Regions from separate parts of the Homo sapiens genome. Here all the other regions are linked to region 3. The links are contacts of gene promoters, found by promoter capture Hi-C in human tissues and cell types (Jung and others, 2019). All regions are on one chromosome and are shown on one strand. The core of a region is centred on a gene start or on the middle of the fragment in contact, and the rest is flanking DNA. Distances in the headings are between cores, read along the strand shown. Region 1 has its middle 20 kb from the start of LINC02593. Region 2 overlaps SSU72 (SSU72 homolog, RNA polymerase II CTD phosphatase). Region 3 holds the start of UBE2J2 (ubiquitin conjugating enzyme E2 J2).

The links. Contacts are between HindIII fragments. The study calls those that stand out against the background at their distance.
Region 1: a contact is called between a fragment that was not itself captured here and the fragment with the promoter of UBE2J2 in region 3, in 1 of the 25 tissues and cell types used here (mesenchymal stem cells).
Region 2: a contact is called between a fragment that was not itself captured here and the fragment with the promoter of UBE2J2 in region 3, in 3 of the 25 tissues and cell types used here (hippocampus, lymphoblastoid cells and spleen).

The regions. Positions count from the first base shown.
Region 1 is chr1:897,267-901,805 of GRCh38, reverse strand. No RefSeq gene overlaps it. Among named protein-coding and RNA genes, the nearest start is that of LINC02593, 20 kb to the left of the region's middle. RefSeq lists a silencer at 3,678-3,838. The HindIII fragment of the contact is 9,929 bases long and covers 1-4,539 here.
Region 2 is chr1:1,556,446-1,560,626 of GRCh38, reverse strand. The region is part of intron 2 of SSU72 (SSU72 homolog, RNA polymerase II CTD phosphatase); the gene reads left to right. Among named protein-coding and RNA genes, the nearest start is that of SSU72, 16 kb to the left of the region's middle. The HindIII fragment of the contact is 4,081 bases long and covers 1-4,070 here.
Region 3 is chr1:1,270,751-1,275,231 of GRCh38, reverse strand. UBE2J2 (ubiquitin conjugating enzyme E2 J2) reads left to right here and starts at 1,378. Exons shown (of 7, transcript NM_058167.3): 1 at 1,378-1,566. It overlaps LINC01786 (long intergenic non-protein coding RNA 1786), which reads right to left and starts at 1,230. Exons shown (of 3, transcript NR_185846.1): 1 at 751-1,230; 2 at 1-429. RefSeq lists enhancers at 1-532, 1,723-2,230, 2,231-2,737, 2,738-3,246 and silencers at 744-793, 954-1,533. The HindIII fragment of the contact is 25,820 bases long and covers 955-4,481 here.

The DNA of each region.
Region 1 (4,539 bases), core at 868-3,367, 370 kb after region 3:
GCTGTTGCCACCCTGAGTGTCAGGGAGTTTATGCACCATCTTTACCGCTAGACTGTGAGCTCCTTGGGGGCACACCGAGTCTCTGTCACGATGGATTTGCCTAGCAGGTGCTCTGTAAACACTTGTTCAATGAACCAGCTGACGAAAAAGATAAAACGCTCCATTTACAGGCCCAGCAATAGTAAAACGAACACTGCTGTGGCTCCCACTTTGAGAACGCATGTTGCAAATGCGTCATATGTCCTGTGAGTGACACACACTCTCTCCACAAACTCCAGCCTGGCTTCTCAAGGCCTCCTCTGGGCAAAGCCCCGTCTTTGGTCTGTGAAGACTTGGATAAAACAGCAACATAGTTTCTCACAGCCCAAGGGTCTGCCATCGCCACATGCCCACCTGAGCAAACTGAAGGCTGTGGAAGAAACTCCTGTTCCGACACCTGAGGAGACACCTGGGCAGCTGCCAACCAGGTGGGCTGAATGCACATGGACCAGCCCCTGCCCACCTCCACTGAGCCCCTGGTTTCCCTCTTTTCTTGTACTCTCTCTGTTTTCACTTTACATACACTCTTTTTTTATTTTTTGGACACAGCGTTTCACTCTGGTTGCCCGGGCTGGAGTGCAGTGGTGCAATCTTGGCTCACTACCACCTCGACCTCCGAGGCTCCAGCGATCCTCCCACCTCAACCTCCCAAGTGGCTGCGACTACAGGTGTGCGCCACCACACCTGGCTAATTTTTGTATTTTTAGTAGAGATGGGGTTTTGCCATGTTACCTAGGCATGTCTCCAACTCCTGAGCTCAAGTGATCCACCAGTCTTGGCCTTCCCAAGTGCTGGGATTGCAGGTGTGAGCCACCATGCCCAGCCTACTAAATAAACTCTTTTTAAAGAACGGTTTTAGATTCACAAAACAATTGAGAAGACGGAACAGAGTTTACAAACGCCTGGCACCCAGTTACGCTGGTACTAACGTGTTACATTAGCGTGGCACTTGTTACAACTACTTGTTACAACGAATGCACCAATATTGATGGATTCTTATTAACTAAAGGCCACATTTTATTCAGGTTTTCTTAGTTTTTACATAATGTCCTTTTCTTTTCCAGGATCCCAGGATATATTCCATTTAGTAATCAAGTCTCTTTAGGTTCCTAAACTGTGAGTTTTTCAGACTTTCCTTTTTCCATGACCTTGGCAGTTTTGAGGAGGGCCAGTCAGGTATTTTGGAGAATGTCCCTCAATTAGGATTTGTCTATTTTCCTCACGATTATACTGAGGTTCTGGTTTTTTTTGGGGAGAAAGACCCAGAGTCAAGTGTGCAGAGGTCAAGTGATCACTGCCGATGTTAACCCTGGTCCGTCTTCACTCCACCACTGACCTCCACTCTGCACTCCTGAGAAGGAGGTCACTGCGATGAGCCACGTTGGAAGAAGGAGGTCGCTGCGATGAGCCGCGTTGGAGAGGTGGGGAGTTAGGCTGGATCTCCTCAAGAGTGGAGCCTCCACTTAGGTTATTTAGAACTATTCTGCACTGGAGATTTGTCTGTTCTCCCCCATGATAGATATTTAACCTCACGTTTACATATCAGGATGGACTCAAGTTCCCTTTAAAATGTGGGGTGACTGTGGGGGCAGGGAGGTCTGTGAAGGGGCAGGGTCACCTGTTGCCATGAGGAGGGTGCTGTTTGTGTATGTGACGCTGTGTGTGGGAGGCCTTGGGCCTGGGATGGTGTGGAAGGGCCAGCGCAGGAGTCTGAGTGGGCTGGCATCTCTGGCCTCAGCCAGCAGGACCACCCCCTGCTTACTTGCCCAGATTTTATCTCCAGCATCTCCTTTATCCTCATTCCTCACACTGGTTTGGTCTCCCATCCCACCCCATCCCTGCATCCCATCCTGTTTCAGCCAGTGTCCCACTTCCTGGGCTGGTACCCATCTCCCTGCAGCCGGGGTGCACGTGCTGAGCCATCAGTGGACCTGTCTGGCCACAGTGTGGGCCTCTGTGAGCCATGGGATGAGCCAGGCTCCCTGGGGGACAGTGGGGCAGGAGTACAGCTGACGATGCCACGCTGTTGTGCTAAACATCTTCTGATTTTTTTCAGAAGAAGCCAGAAATCCAGATTTTTAAAACATGGAATCTCCTTAATCGCCCTTTCAGAATCAGCATCCTGGTGTGCCAGGCTCGTCCTGGGTCTCCAAGCGATTTCCCCCTTCGTTCCCCACTCTCTCTCATGTCCCTGAAACCCCTCGGACACCTGAGCTGATGTATTGGCCGCTCGTCCCCATATCTGCCACGGGGCTCCATGCCACGTGCTTTCTGCTCAGGCCCGTGTTATTGGACTGCAGACCTGGGGTGAGTGCCCGTCATCCAGCACTGATTTGGATCCATCTGTGGACGCCGTGTCTGAGCACTTAGGAGTATTCCGTGCAGGCACCCCCCATTCTGGTTTGCTTATTCCCTCACTGTGGGCCAGAAGGTGCCCCCAGCCGGGCGCGGTGGCTCATGCCTGTAATCCCAGCACTTTATGGGAGGCCGAGATGGGCGGATCACGAGGTCAGGAGATCGAGACCATCCTGGCTAACATGGTGAAACCCCGTCTGTACTAAAAATACAAAAAATTAGCCAGGCACGGTGGCGGGCGCCTGTAGTCCCAGCTACTCGGGAGGCTGAGGCAGGAGAATGGCGTGAACCCGGGAGGCGGAGCTTGCAGTGAGCCGAGATCGCGCCACTGCACTCCAGCCTGGGTGACAGAGCAAGACTCCGTCTAAAAAAAAAAAAAAAAAAAAAGAAGGTGCCCCCAACTCCCAGGATCTGAAGCAAAGCTGAAATGAGCGCGCCCACAGCTGTTCCCTCGCAGTTCCGGAAGTGGCCTGGAGCAGAGGCTGCATCACAGGACGTGAACACTTCACGTTGCCGAGTGCCTGCAGAGTGCGTTCTGGAAGACGCCCATCCGCTCACAAGCTCCCAGTGGTGCCTCAGGACCTCCACCTGTCACATGTTTGCCGACCGCTGTGTACATATAAGGGGTACAGTGGTGTGTGACTTTTGTTTTTTAATGCATTCAGTTGGAAGAGTTTAAATGTTGAAATGAGAATGACTTAATATTGGTTACTGTTGGGAACAGGCCCCCCAAAATCTGGCCATAAACTGGCCACAAAACTGGCCATAAACAAAATCTCTGCAGCACTGTGACATGTTCATAATGGCCCTAACGCCCACGCTGGAAGGTTGTGGGTTTACCGGAATGAGGGCAAGGAACACCTGACCCGCCCAGGGTGGAAAACCGCTGAAAGACGTTCTCAAACCACAAACATAGCATGAGCGATCTGTGCCATCAGGGCATGCTCCTGCTGCAGATAACTAGCCAAACCCACCCCTTTATTCCGGCCCATCCCTTCATTTCCCGTAAGGGATACTTTTAGTTAATAGAAACAATGCTAATGACTGGTTTGCTGTTACTAAATATGTGGGTAAATCTCTGTTCGGGGCTGTCAGCTCTGAAGGCTGTGAGACCCCTGATTTCCCACTTCACACCTCTGTATTTCTGTGTATGTGTCTTTAATTCCTCTAGTGCCGCTGGGTTAGGGTCTTCCTGACCGAGCTGGTCTCTGCAAGTGGCGTCCATCGTGGGGGCTCGAATCCAGGTCGAAGGGTCGCCAGAGCGACGGTTGGAGAACGTGGAACTAGCTGGAGGACACCTGAGTACTCTTAAAGCCATCCCCGTGGTGAGTAAGAAGGGGAGCTCGGAAGCATCAGGGTAACAATGGGACAGGCGTGGGGTCTGGTTCGTTTCACCTTGGAACCTTTTCACACTGATGAGGAGGAGGAAGGAGAGTATAGCGACGTAACAGAAGAGGTTACAGACCAGGTTTGTTTGCCAGCTAAAGCTGAAGCGGCAAAGGAGGGAGAGGTTCATCCCTACCCTTCTGCACCCCCTCATTATTATTTTGAAGAAAATGACCCTCCAGGTATTTCTTTTCCAGAGGACTGTGGGCGAAAAGTAGTTGCCCCAGTGACTGAGCAGCGCCTGGAGCGACTGCTCTTAGTTCTATTCAGGCAGGAATTCAGCAAGCTAGAAGAGAGGGTGATTTAGAGGCTTGGCAGTTCCCTGTTAGAATACACCCCCCAGATCAACAGGGAGATATTATAGCTACATTTGAACCTTTTCCTTTTAAATTACTCAAAGAATTTAAAGAAGCTATTCATACTAAAAAAGAATGTAGAAAAAAAATCAGTGAGTCGGCTGTCAGATAGGGGAAAAAAGAGAACTGCTAAGCTGAAATATGTCCAAAATGTAAAAAAGGAAATCATTGGGCTAACCAATGTCACTCTAAGTTTGATGAAGAACGGAACCCGATTTCGGGAAACACCATGAGGGGCCCATCCTAGGCCCGTTCTAAACCGGGGCATTTCCAACTCAGGCCATTCCCTCCCCACCGTACAATGTCTGTCCCCTGCCACAGCTGGTAGTGTTGCAGTAGATTTATGCTGCACAAAAGCTGTGAGCCCTCTGCCTGGGGAACCCCTGCAAAAGGTCCCAACAGG
Region 2 (4,181 bases), core at 781-3,280, 280 kb before region 3:
CTGCATTGAGCCATAATAAGTTAGAGACTGTATTTGGCTCTAGATGGCTGATTTTGGTCTTTTCCCCCACAAGCCAGAAGTGAGCCTGAGGGGTTGAGGGACTTGCTGCCTGTGCCTCTGAAACCTCCCTTGGGGATTGTCAGGGTACGAGTCTAGGTTTGCAGCACTGGGATGCGAGCCTTCGGTAAAGTTAGACGAGCCACGCCTGCAGTTCCAGCCTGGGGAGACCGAGGCAGGAGGCTCAGTTGAGCCCAGGAGCCGGAGGCCAGCCTGGGCAGCATAGCAAGCCTCTATCTCTACAAAAAACACACAGATGTGGTGGGTGTGGTGGCACAGCTACTCGGGAAGCTGAGGCAGGAGGCTTCACTGAGCTGTGATTGCGCCATTGTGCTCCAGCCTGAGGAAGAGAACAAGACTCTTGTTAAAAAAGTTTCATCCACATTTTCTTTTGGGAATTAATAGTATACATACATGGGGCTGGATGCAGTGGCTCACACCTGTAATCCCAATACTGGGAGACCGAGGCAGGTGGATCACCCGAGTTGAGTTTGAGACCAACCTGGCCAACAGGGTAAAACCCTGTCTCTACTAAAAGTACAAAACGCTAGGCATGGTGGCACATGCCTGTAATCCCAGCACTTTGGGAGGCCGAGGTGGGCGGATCACCCAAGGTCGAGAGTTTGGGAGCAGCCTGACCAAAATGGAGAAACCCCCGTCTCTACTAAAAATAAAAAATTAGCCGGCCATCGTGGTGCATGCCTGATCCTAGCTACTCATGAGGCTGAGGCAGGAGAATCACTTGAACCTGGGAGATGGAGGTTGCCGTGAGCCGAAGTTGCACCATTGCACTCCAGCCTGGGCAACCAGAATGAAACTGTCTCCAAAAATAAAATACAAAAAGTAGCTGGGTGTGGTGGCGTGTGCCTGTAATCCCAGCTGCTCAGGTGGCTGAGGCGGGAGGGTCACTTGAACCCAGGAGGCAGAGGCTGCAGCGAGCTGAGATTGTGCTGTTGGACTCCAGCCAGGGTAGTAATAATAGTAGTAGTGTATATACCTGGACCAGGGACGGGGATCTAAGCTCCCCTGACCTTTGTAGACAAATGGGAACTCTACTGTGTAGGTTCTTTCCTTGGGTGGACTGACCGTTTTATCAAGAATTGTTTTTATTGAGATAAAATGTACAAATCATGCACTTCCCTGAGTCGCGTGTCCAGTTCTGTGGGTTTCAGGACATTCATGGAGTTGCAGCCGTCACCACAATTGGTTTTGAGACGCTTTTCGTCTCCCAAGGCCGTTTGCTGCTGCCCATTCTCCTCCCAGTGCCTGTAGCAGCTTCCCGTGCTACAGGTCCGCCCGTTCCACACCGTCCAGTTTAGCTGCTTCCCGTGCTACAGGTCTGCTCATTCCACACTGTCCAGTTCATATGCAGCCTTTTGTTCTTTCGCTGAGCATGCGTGGAACTATTTCTAAGTCCCAGGTTTCTTTGCCATGACTTTTCCTCGCTCAGCCTCAGTGGCACGTGGAGTAGAGCAGCTTTGCGCTGGGTGTCCTGCCGAGGGGCTTGAGCCTGGCTCCCAGGGTCACGTGCAGAGGCTTCTCTATTTTTTTTCATTTTACACTGAAGCCACTTTCCATAGTTGAGCTTTCTTGCAGGATTTTTTCATTTTTGATTGAAAGGAGTCTGGTTAAGCCATCCCAAGCTTGCTTGGAGTGCCTTTGGGGAGAAGACAAGTGACTTCTGTTTCTAAGTTAGTGAATGGCCAGTCTGACCTAGTGAAGTGTCACTCAGCCCAGTGAGGGGGTCCAGGCAACAGCCGCTGGCCCAGAGGGTAGAGGAGGAGGGAGAGGCCGTTGTGAAAGGAGGGCTGGGGTGGCAGACACCGGCCTGGACAGTTCCCCCGCTCCAGGGAAGCCCATTCAGCCACATGAGAAGGTGTGTGGGAGTCTCACAGGATCCTACAGAAAGTTCATCCTGTGTACATGTAAGTTAGTGAAGGTTTACCAGCTTTTTGTGTTATGAACTGCAAAACCACTTGTCTTCAAAAGCAAGTAAACGTGTAGCTCTAAATGTTAATGTGACTGTTGTCCTGTGAAACGCAAGTGCATCTGACACTTTCCTGGGTCTCGTCTGGCCGTGCAGCTGGAGACCAAGCCTGTGTCTGGCATATACTGTTTGTACCTCTCTTGTGGATTTTTTTCTAATTACCTAATTTTTTCTAATGACGTTTGGGGTTTGGATTATTATTATTATTTGGTTTTGAGACAGGGCGTCTCTCTGTCGTGTGGGCTGCAATGCAGTGGTGCTGTCACAGCTCACTGCAGCCTGGGCATCCCAGACTCAGGTGGGTGATCCTGCCACGTCACCCTCCCCAGTAGCTGGGACCAGAGGCCTATGCCATGCCCAGCTTTTTTTTTTTTTTTTAATTGAGACAGAGTCTCACTCTGTTGCCCAGGCTGGAGTGCAATGGCACGATCTTGGCTCACTGCAACCTCCGACCCTGGGTTCAAGCGATTTTCCTGCCTCAGCCTCCCGAGTAGCTGGGATTTCAGGCATGTGCCACCACGCCTGGCTAATTTTTGTACTTTTAGTAGAGATGGGGTTTCACCATGTTGGCCAGGCTGGTCCTGACCTCATGTGATGAGCCCGCCTTGGCCTCCCAAAGCTCTGGGATTATAGGGGTTGCCACTGCACCTGGCCTGTGTTTTAAATTGCACATTTGTTCATGTCCGTCCTCTGAATTCATTGTCTTTTAGGTTAACTTCTGTGTGTGGCCACTTCCCTGTGGACATTTCCTTGTCTCAGAGTAAAATGTGGTAGACTTCTTTTTTGAGATGGAGTCTCAGTCTGTCACCCCTGCTGGAGTGCAATGGCGTGATCTCGGCTCACTGCAATCTTTGCCTCCCGGGTTCAAGCGATTCTCCTGCCTCAGCATCCTGAGTAGCTGGGATTACAGGTGCGGCGTACCACCACGCCTGGCTAATTTTGGTATTTTTAGTAGAGATGGGGTTTCACCACGTTGGCCAGACATGTCTCAAAACACCTGACCTCCGGTGAACCACCTGTTTTGGCCTTCCAAAGTTTTGAGATTACAGGTGTGAGCCGCTGTGTCCGGCCCCATATATATATATATGCTAATTCAGATGAATAGTATAGTTCCCAAAAAGGAAATGCTGATATGAAGCTTTATTTATTTATTTATTTATTTACTTTTTTGAGACAGAGTCTTGTTCTGTCGCCCAGGCTGGAGTGCAGTGGTGCAATCTCGGCTCACTGCAACCTCCGCCTCCCAGGTTCAAACGATTCTCCTGCCTCAGCCTCCTGAGTAGCTGGGATTATAGGCATGCACTGCCACACCCGGCTAATTTTTGTATTTTTAGTAGAGACAGGATTTCACTATGTTGGCCAAGCTGGTCTTGAACTGCTGACCTCAAGTGATTCACCCGCCTCGGCCACCCAAAGTCCTGGGATTACAGGTGTGAGCCACTGCGTCCCGCCCAGCAGCTGTGTTTTAAAATAGTTTTGGGAAGGTATTTGTCAAACAAATGAATGTGTTCCTAAGCCAGACGCCGATTCCCAGAGAAACTCTGATCGTGGGTTTTAGAAAATCATTCATGCCTAAAATGTAAATTACGGCCTTAAGATATTTCAGGTAAGGCCAGAGATACTGGCCTGCTCTTCTCATCTGAGATGACAGAGGTAGAACGGAGCTGACTGGCTGAGGTAGTTGCTGGTGGTCATTTGAGGGTCTGGACAGAATGCAGCTGTGCTGACTGTGCCTTCGTCTTCAAGAGGTAGCCCAGGGTCAGGGCCCACAAGCCTGTGAGTTTTCACCTAGTCTGCAGCAGGTGAGATGCTTTTGCAAAGTAGTTTCACGGTGCCTGCAGTCGCAAGGCCATGGTGGACCCCCCCAGAGCTGGCCTGAGCCTTGTGTGGCTCTGTGTTGAGGCCACGGTTACAGTTGGGTGCCCAGCAGCTCCAGAGATGGCCATGAGACCTTTTCGAGGGGTTCCTGAGTTCTGTTTGTGCAGCCTCTGTGCTTTGCCAAAAAAGCATTCGCTATCAAAATGAAATTTTTTTTTTTTTGAGACAAGAGTTTTGCTCTTTTTGCCCAGGCTGGAGTGCAATGGCGTGGTCTTGGCTCACTGCAAGCTCCACTTCCTGGGTTCAAGCGATTCTCCTG
Region 3 (4,481 bases), core at 129-2,628:
GGGGCACCTTCTCCCTGGGGTGTGACTCAGCCATGCTCCTGAGCAGGGGCCTCTGAGTTGAGCCTCGCTGCAGTCTTCCCAGCTGCAGGGCCCCCACAGGTGTGCTGTCATCGCACACTACTGAGGGACAGACAAGGCAGAGCGGGCCTCCATCTGCCGCGGGCCACAGCCGTGAGTGTGCATGCGAGTGGATGTGCTGGTGCCTGTATCTGCGGCCGGTGTGGCTTCCCTCACATAACTTTCCATGCTGTGAAAACAGTTTGGCCTGCCCTGCATGGGAACGGCAGAGGCCTGAGAGGAGGCAGAGGAAGGAGGCTGGATGCTGAGATGTTCTCCGAAGGTGGAGCCGGTGACGGCAGTAATGGAGGCAGGCTGGATTCCCACGGGCTGAGGCTGCGTGGACACTCCTCCTGGCTTCTGCCCCACGGCCTGCAGCAACGTCTCAGACCCACCAAGGTGTCCCAGAGGGCCAGAGTCAGGGCTGAGCATGGACACAGCCTGCCCTCTGCCCGTAGCCACAGCGGGACTGACCCTCAATATTCAGCCACCTTGCTGACCTGTGGTTGTTCCTGAGAGGCAGTCAGGGTTGGGGCAAAGGAGAGGGCCACAGGCAGCCAGGTGGCGAGGTCCACCTCCTGATCCCCCACCAGGGGACCACCCTCAGCTCCCCGCTGTCCTCAGCGGCCTCTCAGGGAGGCGGTGGGCTGCGCGCCTGCCCCCAGCGTCCCACCCCAGCGCCCCGCCACCTACCGCTCTCTCCCAATGTGTCTGGGGTCAGAGAGAGGTGGAGAGGACGCAGCGCCCCGCGCTTTCTGCAGTCTGTCCAAGGGGAGGTCAGGGGCATCCCGGGGCTGGGCAGGCACCTGCAGGGGAGGGTGCTGCGGCGCGGACGTGGGTTGCAAAGAGATGCCACGCGTGTCACTCTCGGGTCCCTGAACGAGAGAGCTCTGAGCTCCCTGGAGCCCAACCCTCCACTGAGCCTCCAGGGGCCCGGGACGCTCCATGCCCGGGCCGCGCCGCGCCTCCCCTAAGGGCCGGGTGGGGCGTGGGAGCGGAGGACAAGGCGGGAGCCGGGAGGCGGGAGGGTCGGGGTTCTTTCTCCACCGGGGTCGCCCTCAGCCGGGCCTGCCGCCCTGGGCCGTGGCACATGGGGAGGGAAGCGCGCGGCTTCGGGGTCTGGGGCTCTCGCGCCCACTAACGGTGCCCGGAGCCGCCCGCCAGTGCGCAAGCGCCGCCCCGCCCCCCGCCCCATCCCCCACCCCGGGGTCGACGGCGACAGAGAGTCGTGGGCGCGGTCCGCCAGTCTGCCTAGAGCGGCCAGCCCTCCCCCTCCCTCCTCACCGCCCCGGACCGCGCACCGGAAGCAGAAGCTAGGCTGGTTCCGCCCCGCGAGCGGCCATCTTGGAGGCTGAGGCGGCGGCGGCGGCGCTGCGGCGGGTTCGGTGGGCCCAATCCCGGGGCGGTGCGGCTGTTTCGGGCGCGGGCCCCGCTTTTCCGCACCCTGCTCCGGCCTCGACTACGGCGAGCCTGAGCGCGGCGGCGGCCCACGCGCAGCGACAGGGAGAGGTGAGCGCGCTCGCAGGCCTGCGCCGGGTCCTCGGGCCCGCTCGTCCCCCCTGCCGGAGCCGGCCACAGCGGCGGCCCGGGGCTGCTGGGGACCCTGCGCGACGCTTCTCCGTTCGCGCCCGCCGCCCGCGGGGCCCCGGCCCGAGCCTGCCTGCGCGGAACCCGAGGTCGGTTACGGCGGGCTCCCGGAGCTCCGGGTCAGGGTCATGTCGGGGACTTGACCACTCGGCCGGGTTTCCCGTCAGCTGGGACACTTGCAGCTGCCCCAGGACGGGCAGCCTCGATCCTGGTTCGTCAGTGGATCACGGGAGTCTGTGTCGGGGGAGGGCTGCCGTCGAGCCCGCCGTCGCCTCGCCCCTGAACTGTTAGACTCCAGACTGCCCCGTAAACCCCGAGAGAAACGAGCGTGCCCGGGACTGTGCTTAGGGCCAGCGTTTCTGGGAAACCCGGGCGGTGACAGTGGGAGACCACCGCCGGCCGGCGAGTGAGACACGAGCCCGGAACAAGTCTCTAAGCGGCGCCGGGCCTCGCCATCCACACCTGCCAGTTCCCTGCATCCTTTCAGCCCCTGGCCAGGTGTCACCTCCTGGCGTCCTTTTCAGTGCCTGCCACTTAGTGCGTGTGTATTTAACTCTAGTCCGGTTGCCATCCTCTTGCCAGACCCAGATAGGAAGCGGCTGAAAGGTCGGGCCTCAGCCCGGTGGGAGGTGGGCAGCGAAGAGTGTACAGCGGGCTTGGCTGGGGCAGGTCGGTGGCCCCGCGCCCTGCTCCAGGGGAACCAGACTGTGTAATCTGGCTTCCGAAGAAAGGATCGTGAGTATCTCGCTTAGTCTAGCACCTGAGCCTAGGGCGTGGTTGGGTCTGGGTGCCCGGAACTTGCAGTCCGTCATCTGCACGGCCTGGCACCGCTGACCTCCTTAGCAGTTCCACTCTCGGCAGGGATGTGCGTGAGTGACAGGCAGGTGAGCCAGGCAGGTAGGTGAGTGCTTGAGTGACAGGCAGGTGAGCCAGGCAGGTAGGTGCGTGGATGAGTGACAGGCAGGTGACCCAGGCAGGTGCATGTGTGAGTCGCAGGTGAGTGTCCCATTTCCATCGGCCCGGGCTTCCGTCCAGCCTCCGGAGCAGTCTGGTGGAGAAGGCAGAGACTTCCCTGGCAGTCCTGGACCTGGGTGTGCCATGCGCCTGGCCGATGGGTCAGGCCAAGGTTTCCTGCCACATCCCCTAAGCAGGAAAGAGCTGTCCAGACAAAGAGGGACGGGTGAGGGACGCTGGGCAGCCACTGCCTCAGCACCTGGGCACAGCTGCCCTCGGTGATTCACGCTGCTTTAATGCAGTTTCTGTGTGTGAACATTTTTTTTTCCTGTGCCTTTTTGTTTTAAAATCGCCAACTCTTTCTCTCAGCAGGATGATATGCTTGGTGTCCTTTGTCTGTGGGGATGTTTGAAGGGAACCCGAGGCACATATGCTTCAAACTCTGTTCTCACAGTTTGCTTCCTTTGTGGAATTTTTTTTTTTTGATACAGGGTCTCTGTTGGCCCAGCTAGAGTGCAGTGACATGATCTCAGTTCACTACAGCCTCCGGCTCCCGAGTTCAAGTAATTCTCCCACCTCAGCCTCCAGAGTAGCTGGGATTGCAGGTGCCCACCACCACACCCGGCTAATTTTTTTTTTTTTTTTTTTTTTTTTTTTTTGAGACGGAGTTTCGCTCTTGTTGCCCAGGCTGGAGTGCAATGGCTTGATCTTGGCCCACCACAGCCTCCACCTCCTGGATTCAAGTGATTCTCCTGCCTCAGTCACCCGAGTAGCTGGGATTACAGGCACATGCCACCATGCCTGATTAATTTTGTATTTTTAGTAGAGACGGGGTTTTACCATGTTGGTCAGGCTGGTCTCGAACCCCCGATCTCAGGTAATCTGCCTGCCTGGGCCTCCCAAAGTGTTGGGATTACAGGTGTGAGCCACCACGCCCAGCCCCTTTGTGAATTTTTGTTTTCCTTGTCCTTCCTGCTGTCATATTGGGATGAGAAGAATTGGGGGAAATAGCCCCCTGGCCTCCTGGGGGACGTGAGAATGCTGTTCTGTGTGAAGCTCAGGAAGAGTGGCTGGGGAAACAGCAGTTGAATCGTGAACATGATTTTAAAAGCCTCTCCAAGCAGGTATGGGAGAGAAGCTTGTTTGTGACTCATTGGATGGAATCTATTTTATTTTTGCGCGGCTGTCCATGAACTTTCGTTAAACCTGCGGCCTGGCCACTTAGCTAAGCCCAGACCCACCTGCACTTGAATTGTCCAGTGAATTATTTTGTATATGGCAGAGTGTTAGCTTCAGGGTGAGTGTCGAAAGGACAGCCTGTGTGGCGGTGCTGCTTGGGGTCATCACTGTGGCCATCACCAGGTGTTGGCCTGAGGGGAGATCCCTGGCCCATTGGCTTCTTTAGCCAGGAGCTGGGGATGCCACTGTGTGGAAGCACTTCCTTCCCAGGCAGGACTGTAACCCCATCCCTGGTGGGGGCCCTCCTGGGGAGGCACTCCTTAGGCAGAGGAACCCGCTGGGGCCCAGAAGGGCCCTGCGTTGTGTGTGGGGTCACATGGAGGCCAGTGATGTGTGACAGAGTGGGAGGCATTTGGCAGGGAAATCAGGGAGGCCTCTGAAGGCGGTGGCTCTGGCTATGCCGGGAAGGGCCTGGGGAGTTTCCAGTACAGGCTAGGCTGGGAAGCAGCTGTGAGAAGGAGTGTGTCGGTCAGGACTTTGGAGTGGGACCTGGGCCGTGCTGGGTCTTGGGAGTTGGGAACGAGGAGGGCTGGCTGGGGCTGCTCTGTCTTGGGAGCTGGGAATGAGGAGGGCTGGCTGGGGCTGCCTCTGTCAAGGGGCTGGCAGGCAAGAGGACGTGTTGATGTTTATTTGCTTGGCTGTGG